2 separate regions of the Homo sapiens genome follow, and region 2 is linked to region 1. Evidence: promoter capture Hi-C in human tissues and cell types (Jung and others, 2019). All regions are on one chromosome and are shown on one strand. The core of a region is centred on a gene start or on the middle of the fragment in contact, and the rest is flanking DNA. Distances in the headings are between cores, read along the strand shown.

Region 1 (4,532 bases), core at 1,948-4,447:
TAAATGAACCCAGGAGACAGAGACTGCAGTAAGCTGAGATCAGGCCACTGCACTCCAGCCTGGGCGACAGAGTGAGATTCCATCCAAAACACACACACACACACACACACACACACACACACACACACAAAATTAGATTACAGTAAAATTATGTTCTAATATTGTGATTACATTATCTTTCCTAAAACAGCCACCTTCAAAAATATATATAACAAAGAACAAAATAAATCACTTCTGAAAGTCATGAAAAACTATTCACACACACACACACAAAGTCAAATTATGAAATGTTTCTTAAAGCAGATGTGAATTTCCAGACTTTCAAGCATATTTTGCTATCTCGAAACTTGTCAAACCGAATGCTGCATTTTTTTTCACCCTTGCTCTCAGAGACTTATTTTCACTGTTGATACGCACAAACCTAAGTGAGGAGATTCTAGAAGCTGAAACTTATTTACAAGGAATGCAGGAAAGTGATTCAAATTCAAAGTAATTCTACAAGTACATTAACGATCTGTTCAAGAATAAAACTTCACATTACACAAATCCAACACAGTAAACAAAATTTCACCTATTCATCAGAAAGAATAAGGGCTGCCATTTAGGTCTCAAGTAAAAGAACTTAAAGCAAGGAAAAATCTAAATTAACCTTAAATTGTTGTAAAGCCTCAAGGAACAGAAAAAAGACCTTGTGGTACTAAAACATTCCAAATATCTTTGATCACTCAAACTACTCAGGAGCAAATTCTCTTATAATCTAATTTTTAAGCCTAGTAGTCAATGCAACTTAATAACCTTAGTTTTAATGTTTATATATTTGAACATGTTGAATTATCTGCCAAATCTCTTCCTAATACCTAAGAAAGTAAAAACAGAATACATCCTTTTCTATAAAAGTTGTATTTTAAATTTTTTCATTTTTCGCTAGATGCCAACGAAAAAGGGAAACTGAAGTTACCCTACTTGGGGAAACGATCACTTCATCTGAACTAGTTTGGCTAAGTAGTGTTTGGGATGCTTCAGACTCAGAGAAGGGGAAGGGGGGGCGGGGCGTGTAAAGTCAAATAACCGACTGTTTCCGCCCCCTTTGAAGGCAGCAGAATTCCTTAAAAACCAGCTGATTCCTCTTGATGGGGAATTTCTGCTGTAAATAAAAATTCTTTGGAAATGGGTTGCTGAAAATGTGTTTTCAAAAAGAAAACTCGGGTGAATGAAAAATCCTCTTATTCCACCTTCCAAAGCCCAAGATGCCTATTTAAGGAGGACGCCGGTCACCCGCCGTCAAGCCGGCGGCCTAGGCCTAAAGAAGGCACAGTAGTGCCTACAACACGGATGGACTTGAGGCACAAGGGAAATGGACTTGCGTGCCCTTGGTAAGCTCTGGCGGCACTCCCGAAGTTAAGGACACCGGCCACAATGGAATGGAGTCTATTGACGTTTCCTTCTCCCTTTGAACACTAAGCATTTTCTTAGTTCGTGAAATACGAACTGACAACCGCCCGCCACCCCCAACAGGCCCTCCTGCACAAACACACCCTCGAGTCAAACCCAGTTAGCCGGGACAACACTGAGCCCCCAGCCCCTACTACAACCCCGGCTTAGGAGGGAAAAAGACGCTAGTAAACACCCGCCTTTCTGCCTTCAGGAACCCGACCACGTCCCCTGCTGCAATCTCTCTCTCCTAGCATTTCCGAAATTGGGGCGGGGGTTGGGATAAGTGCGCAGGGTGCCCGCCCCCTGCCACCAGCACCGCCACCCCGGATCTCCAGGGTCCAGCCTGGGTCCAGCCCTCACCCACCGATGTTCCACAGGCGCCTTCTCCACTGCGGCCTCGAACAGCAATGCGGATCGGCCACCACCCGCGCGCCGGAGAGGTCTGGCGGGGGAAGGAGGAAGGCCGGGACGGGGCCGGGCACTCCCCACCCCTTCCCTTCCCCAGGTGGGGGAGGGTGGAACGCTGCCGGAGGCCACATGGAGCCCCACGATTTCAGGGGAGTTCGGGAGCCCCCGCCGCCGCCTCGGACACGAACGCAGAGGGGTGCGGGGGCCAAGGCCCACTTGTCTCCACCCCGTCCTCCGATCTTTCCCAGGACTCGGAGGGGGCGGGGAGAGAGCCCCGACAGACCCTGATGATTCCGGAGGAGCCCGGTGCCTACCCCTTTAACCGGCACGGGGGACGCGGCCCTAACTTCTCCCCTCCAGAGATGTCCCCCATGGAGGGGGACATGTTCCGGAAAACGCCACCACAGCCTCCAGACCCCTCCAACGTTCACACCTAAACCGGGAGTGGAGGAGCTGCCCGAGCATCCCCACGCTGCGGGCGGAGGATCGTGCGGAAGGGGGAGCCGGGGCTGACCATCGCCGCTACCCGAGAACCCCTCCCAACACGCGTGGGGAGGGGAGGCCGCCCGCTCCCTCCATCTTGACCGCCGGGGGAGGGGGCGGGGATGCTGCGGGAGGCTGGACAGGCCTGACAATCCCAGAGGACCCCGGCTGCGCCCACCGGCCGAGCCTCGGGGCTCAGGCCCGAGCGAGTCTCCCCCGCGCTGCCGGCCCCCAGCCCACCCCGGGTAGCCCGGCGGGTCACGGGGCGGGGACGGCGGCGCGGGCCGCGGGGGAGGGGACGCCGGGCCCGGAGCGGAGGGGGCTGGGGTGCCGACACCCACCTGCCCAGGCCGGGCCTCCCGCCGCCGGAGGTCGCCGCGACCACCGAGGAGGGAGCCGTGGCCGAGGACGAGGAGACCGAGGACGAGGACGGCGAAGGCGCGGCGGCGGGCGACGCTAGAAGGCCGCTGCCGCCGGGCTTGCGGACATTGGCAGCCGCGGGCGGCGGCTGCTGCTGCTGCTGCTGCTGCTGCTGTTGCTGCTGCTGCTGCTGCTGCTGCTGCTGCTGCTGCTGCTGGGGCTTCAGCGACATGGTGAGGGGCCCATACACCGGCTCGCACGCCGGGCGGGGACAGCCGGGAGCCGGGCGCGCCAAGGAGACGCCGGAACGCGGCGGGGACGCGCGGGCGCCGAGCGGGGAGGCGCGGGTTGGCGCGGCCGGAGGGGCGCCCGGGCTGGCGAGGGGGAGAAGGAGGACGACGAAGGGGCGGGGAGGCCCGCCGAGACCAAGGAGCCGCCGGGAGCCGGGCCGAAACGCGCCGCCGCCGTTGCCGTTGCTACCAAAACAGTCTGAGGCGGAGGGAGGCGAGCTCTGCCGGGAGGGAGGGGGGCCGGGGCCGGGCGGGGGAGGGGCGGCGGAGGGATACGGTCCCGGGGCCGCGCCACCGCCGCCCCGCCCGCTCCGCCGCGCCGGCCGCTGGAGCGAGCGCCACCCGGGCCACCTGGCTGCGGCGAAGCGGCGAGACTCGGTGGCCACCGCGGGACTCCGAGGAGCTGCGGCCGCTGAGCGCATCGGAGGGCGGGCGCGCCGAGGCGCCGGGTGGGAGCGGAGGTGCGGATAGGGACTCTTTACCGGAAGTCGGAGGGGTCAGACGGAAGCAGAACGTGAGGTGGCCCCGGGGCCGGGAGGGACACGTGAGGAGCGGGCGGCGCGCTGGGTTGCTTTCTCGGGGGTCGGGTGAGGGCCAGGCGGCGGTCCCTACCCGGATCCGCCTTCCTCAAGGCGGGTCTGCCCTTCGGGGAGGGCGTGTCGGTCTCAGCCTCTGGGGCCTGCCTGGTGTGGAGGACAGGAGAGAAGCATTTCTTCTCCTACTGTATTCCTTCAGCATCTTCACTTCTGCGGGGACCTAGTTTGCCCCCACCTGATGCAACCCAGAAAATGGACTGACTGCGAGTGCCTTGGGGCGGAGAATGTGTCTTGCTACGTGTAAAGCACCTAGAACCCTGCCAGATTCAGGGGACACAGCATCCTGCCGTTTTCCTGCCGTCCCCCGCCCGCCACACAGTAGGCGCTCCAGTGGCTCGGGGCATCTACCAGGCAGGCCGCGCTGTCCTGCCCTGCCGGGGCTGGAGTGGAGCAACCCTCCGGGGCCACCCACATCTGGGTACCTTTTCCCCACTTTTTCCACCCCAGCCGCGCACAGTCACCAGAAAACTCTTTTAGGTATCTGACCTTCATTTGAACCTATGTTCCCTCACTTGAACTTCTTTTTCCTCATTCATGAGATTCTAAAGGAAATATATGGGATTGGGACTGGTAGAACTACGGATAATGGGATCTCCCTCGGTAGAGACAGAGCCGACCTCAAAACAATGTGCGAACTTTAGACCTTGGACCCTTTAGAAGTTTTAATTTAACTTACCCAGCCAGCACAGTAGACTCTTTTTAAAATGTGTTGCAGTTAAACTGGAAGCAAGTAGAAAGTAGGTAACTTTTTTTTTTTTTTTTGAGCAGTGAATCTATTGTTTTTTAAAGTGAAATGACTTCAGGAAATAATAGGGGAAGAAACACCAAAATTCCCCTCAATGTCCTAGAACTGTCCAGATAAAGGTAAAGACTTAGATAAACGTGGAGAATGATTGAACCAGCAGTTTTCAGTAGTCCAACTGAAATTAACCTCCTAGATAGTCCAGGCAAAAATGATCAT
Region 2 (4,295 bases), core at 1,126-3,625, 1.3 Mb before region 1:
TGGAAAGGTCATAGTTACTCTTCAAGTTGAGCGATTTTTCTCCCCCAAGAGCTAATTAAAGTTTCTTGTTTCTGATATGCTCTCCTTGGCAAATGTTTGAAAGTCTAGTATCAGAGCAGCTGTGATCCTGCATCTATCAAAATTTATAACTTCCTAGAGAAGTTTTCATTCTGGCATTATTCCTGGCCTTAACACTAGAATGCCCTGTTGAAAGCATACAGTAACATTTATTATACTCATTCTGGTTGTCTGTTTGCCCTAGCTCACTGGACGTTGGTGGTGATTGGCATCTGTCAGGACTTGGTGGTCCTGGTGCCTCCTGTTTTTATTTTTCTTTTTGTCCTGCTCAAACAGATATTTCTTATTCATGCCGTCTTCTAATGAGTCATTTGGATTCATTATTGCCATAAATCATTTGGAGGAGTGTTTTCATGATTTACTAAGTAGATCTTTTAAAGAAGATTTTATTATGAAATATGCAAACATTTTAAGCAATTTTTTAATTAAAAAAAATTCGACCTCCAAGATTAAATCATTAGATGTGGTTAACACTGTTTCTGGATTGGTAAGTTTCCACAAAAAGAGGTTTTTAAATTTTTAACCACATAGACCACTCTTTACCATATTCATTATTCTTAGTATTCATTGTGGTGAGTTCTCTCTTTTTACCACGTTTATAGTTGTTGGATTGGGAAGTGCAGTGTGACTCTTACTTTGTAGTTTTTAAATCTTAACAAGTTTATAGTTGTATGAGCTAAAAGTTTAAACCTCTGCCCCATTTTCTTGGGGCAGTGTTCTGTGACCAGTTACATTTTTGGACTTAGGTTATCTCTGAAGTGCTGTGTTGCTGTATAAATGTCATATGGAGGATAACCTACAAAATACACTTCGGATCTCCCAACAGCTTTGCGGTTCTGAAACAGCCTTCAGTAGTACCACTGAAAAGAAACGGGGAATTAACTGGTTTTTTGTTTCTTTTATAGAGATGAGGGTCTCGCTATGTTGCCCAGGCTGGTCTCAAGCTCCTGGCATGAAATGATCCTCCTGCCTTGGCCTCCCAAAGTGCCGGGATTATAGGCATGAGCCACTGTTCCCGGCCTAGAATTAAACAGTTTATATATGCTCTAAAATTTAAGTCAGTGATCAAGTTGTTTATACTGTGGATTTATGTCACATGGATATTACTTGATATGAATAATAACTAAATGAACATGACTGTTAGATGATCACCTTTTACTTTAATCAAGAATTGAAGTTTTATTTTTTCTAAATAGATACATATAAAATGAATGGAATTTATTCCCTCTCCCCAGATTTTATTTGGATTCTAAAATGGAATTATTACATCAAAAGATAAGGTATTTTTAAGAAGTATAGTTGTTTTTTTGAGACTGAGTCTTGCTCTAACGCCCAGGCTGGTGTGCAGTGGTGCGATCTCAGCTCACTGCAACCTTTGCCTCCCAGGTTCAAGCGATTCTCCTGCCTCAGCTTCCCAACTAGCTAGGACTGCAGGTGTGCGCCACCACACCTGGCTAATTTTTTGTGTTTCTAGTAGAGGTGGTTTCACCTTGTTGGCCAGGGTGGTCTCGAATTCCTGACCTCAGGCGATCTACCTGTCTCGGCCTCCCAAAGTGCTGGGATTACAGACTTGAACCACCACACCCAGCCATGAAGTATAGTTTTTTGTTTGTTTTTTGAGTTTTGCTTTTGTTGCCCAGGCTGGAGTGCAATGGTGCGATCTTGGCTCACCGCAACCTCTGCCTCCCGGGTTCAAGCGATTCTCCTGCCTCAGCCTCCTGAGTAGCTGGGATTACAGGCATGCACCACCACACACTGCTAATTTTGTAATTTTAGTAGAGATAGGGTTTCTTCGTGTTGGTCAGGCTGGTCTCGAGCTCCAGACCTCAGGTGATCCCCCCGCCTTGGCCTCCCAAAGTGCTGGAATTACAGGCGTGAGCCATCGCACCCGGCTTTTTTTTTTGTTTTGAGACCGAGTCTTGCTCTGTTGCCCAGGCTGGAGTGCAGTGGCACGATCTCGGCTCACTGCCACCTCCGCCTCCTAGGTACAAGTGATTCTCTTGCCTCAGCCTCCCCAGTAGGTGGGATTACTGACACACATCACCATGCCCAGGTAATTTTTTTGTATTTTTAGTAGAGACGGGGTTTCGCCATGTCGGCCAGGCTGGTCTGGAACTCCTGACCTCAGGTGATCTGCCCGCCTCAGCCTCCCAAAGTGTTGGGATTACAGGTGTGAGCCACTGTGCCCAGCTGAAGTATAGTTTTGACTTTCAAGAATTCTTATGAACAAGACATAGCCAGTTGTTTATATAATTGCATTTTCTACCGTTTATTTCTAGAGAAAGAAAATAGATTTTGTCTATCATAATCCCTTTAGTGCTAGCCACTTTTTTTTTTTTTTTTTTTTGAGTTTTCGCTCTTGCTGCCCAGGCTGGAGTGCAATGGCATGCAGTACACTCACGGCTCACTGCAACCTTTGCCTCCCCAGGTTCAAGTGATTCTCTTGCCTCAGCCTCCTGAGTAGCTGGGATTACAGGCACCTACCACCATGTCCAGCTAATTTTTTGTATTTTTAGTAGAGATGGGGTTTCGCCATGTTGGGCAGGTTGGTCTGGAACTCTTGACCTCAGGTGATCGCCTGCCTTGGCCTCCCAAAGTGCTGGGATTACAGGCCTGAGCCACCATGCTCGGCCAGTGCTAGCCACTTTTTAAAAAAGTGACATTAAGCCTAAAAAGACACATTCTAACGTGCCATTTCTCTTCTAGGTTTTGGCTTGGTTTGAAGAAGGTGAAGAAACAATTACAGCCTTTGTAGAACCTTTTGTAATTTTACTCATATTAGTAGCCAATGCAATTGTGGGTGTATGGCAGGTAAGCAAAAATTCCTGTACTGCAAAATTTCAATAAGTTATGTAAGTGATTAGGGCTGTATTAATCTTTCTGTTATCTGTTTTTCCTGATGTGTTGAGTAAAAATATGTTTGCGGGAAGTTTACATGTATTTTCCCTTTATTCCATAAATTAATTGTTTTCTGACACAGTCTCACTCTGTTGCCCAGGCTGGAGTGCAATGGTGTTGTCTCGGCTCACTGCAACCTCTTCCTCCCAGGTTCAAGTGGTTCTCGTGCCTCAGCCTCCCAAGTAGCTGGGACTACAGGCACGCACCACCACGCCCAGCTCATTTTTGTATTTTTTGGTAAGAGACAGGGTTTCACCATGTTGGCCAGGCTGGTCTTGAGCTCCTGACCTCAAGTGATCCGCCCTCCTCAGCCTCCCAAAGTGCTGGGATTACAGACGTGAGCCACCATGCCCGGCCTATTAATTTAATTAATTGCAAATTTTTGACCTTAATGCATATAAACTTTGCAGTTAAGATTGCTCATTCTTCGCCAAGTGTGGTGGCACCAGCCTGTAGTCTCAGCTACTCAGGAGGCTGAGGTGGGAGGGTTGCTTGAACCCAGGAGGTCAAGACTGTAGTGAGCCATGATCGTAACACTGCACTCCAGTCTGGGCAAAGGAGCAACACTGTCTCAGAAAAACATTGTTCATTCTTTACGGTAGCAAGGAATTAAAATGGGTGAGAGAAGCTGCTTAAGGAAATGAGAATGTGAGAACCATTATCTTTATGTCTCCTAGTTGCTTCCTGTGACAAACTTTAAAAGCTACATGTCATTTTTATTCTCCTTGGGTTTTTTTGGTAGGTTTAGCTATAAAAATTGTTTCCCCTTCAGTGCTTACTACAGACTCTGAGACTTAAAATTCATGTTAAGTGTTGATCTTTTAGGTATTTGACGGATATAATCACCCCTTTGAGGACTGAAGTAGACCTTTTTTTTGTTTTTGTTTTGAGACCGACTCTCTGTCGCCCAGGCAGGAGTGCAGTGGCACGATCTCGGCTCACTGCAACCTCCGCCTCCCAGGTTCAAGCAGTTCTGCCTCAGCCTCCTTGAGTAGCTGGGATTACAGGCACCTGACACCACACCCAGCTAATTTTTGTATTTTTAGTAGAGACGGGGTTTCACCATCAGGCTGGTCTCAAACCCCTGACCTCGTGATCCACCCACCTCGGCCTCCCAAAGTGCTGGGATTACAGGTGTGAGCCACCACTCCCGGCCTTTTTTTTTTTTTTTTTTTTTGTTTGTTTGTTTGTTTGTTTGTTTTGACCGACTTTCACTCTTGTTGCCCAGGCTGGAGTGCAATGGTGCAGTCTTGGCTCACTGCAACCTCCACTTCCCGGGATCAAGCAATTCTCCTGTCTCACCCTCCCGGGTAGCTGGG

What was found. Contacts are between HindIII fragments. The study calls those that stand out against the background at their distance.
Region 2: a contact is called between a fragment that was not itself captured here and the fragment with the promoter of ATXN2 in region 1, in 1 of the 25 tissues and cell types used here (dorsolateral prefrontal cortex).

The regions. Positions count from the first base shown.
Region 1 is chr12:111,596,118-111,600,649 of GRCh38, forward strand. ATXN2 (ataxin 2) reads right to left here and starts at 3,198. Exons shown (of 25, transcript NM_001372574.1): 1 at 2,667-3,198. The coding sequence starts at 2,917. ATXN2-AS (ATXN2 antisense RNA) reads left to right here and starts at 3,381. Exons shown (of 2, transcript NR_146497.1): 1 at 3,381-3,436; 2 at 3,711-4,138. RefSeq lists silencers at 1,843-1,972, 2,563-2,612, 2,703-2,872, 2,933-3,242 and an enhancer at 3,703-3,932. The HindIII fragment of the contact is 12,348 bases long and covers 1-4,532 here.
Region 2 is chr12:110,289,236-110,293,530 of GRCh38, forward strand. It overlaps ATP2A2 (ATPase sarcoplasmic/endoplasmic reticulum Ca2+ transporting 2), which reads left to right. Exons shown (of 20, transcript NM_170665.4): 4 at 2,785-2,889. Among named protein-coding and RNA genes, the nearest start is that of ATP2A2, 10 kb to the left of the region's middle. The HindIII fragment of the contact is 6,416 bases long and covers 1-4,295 here.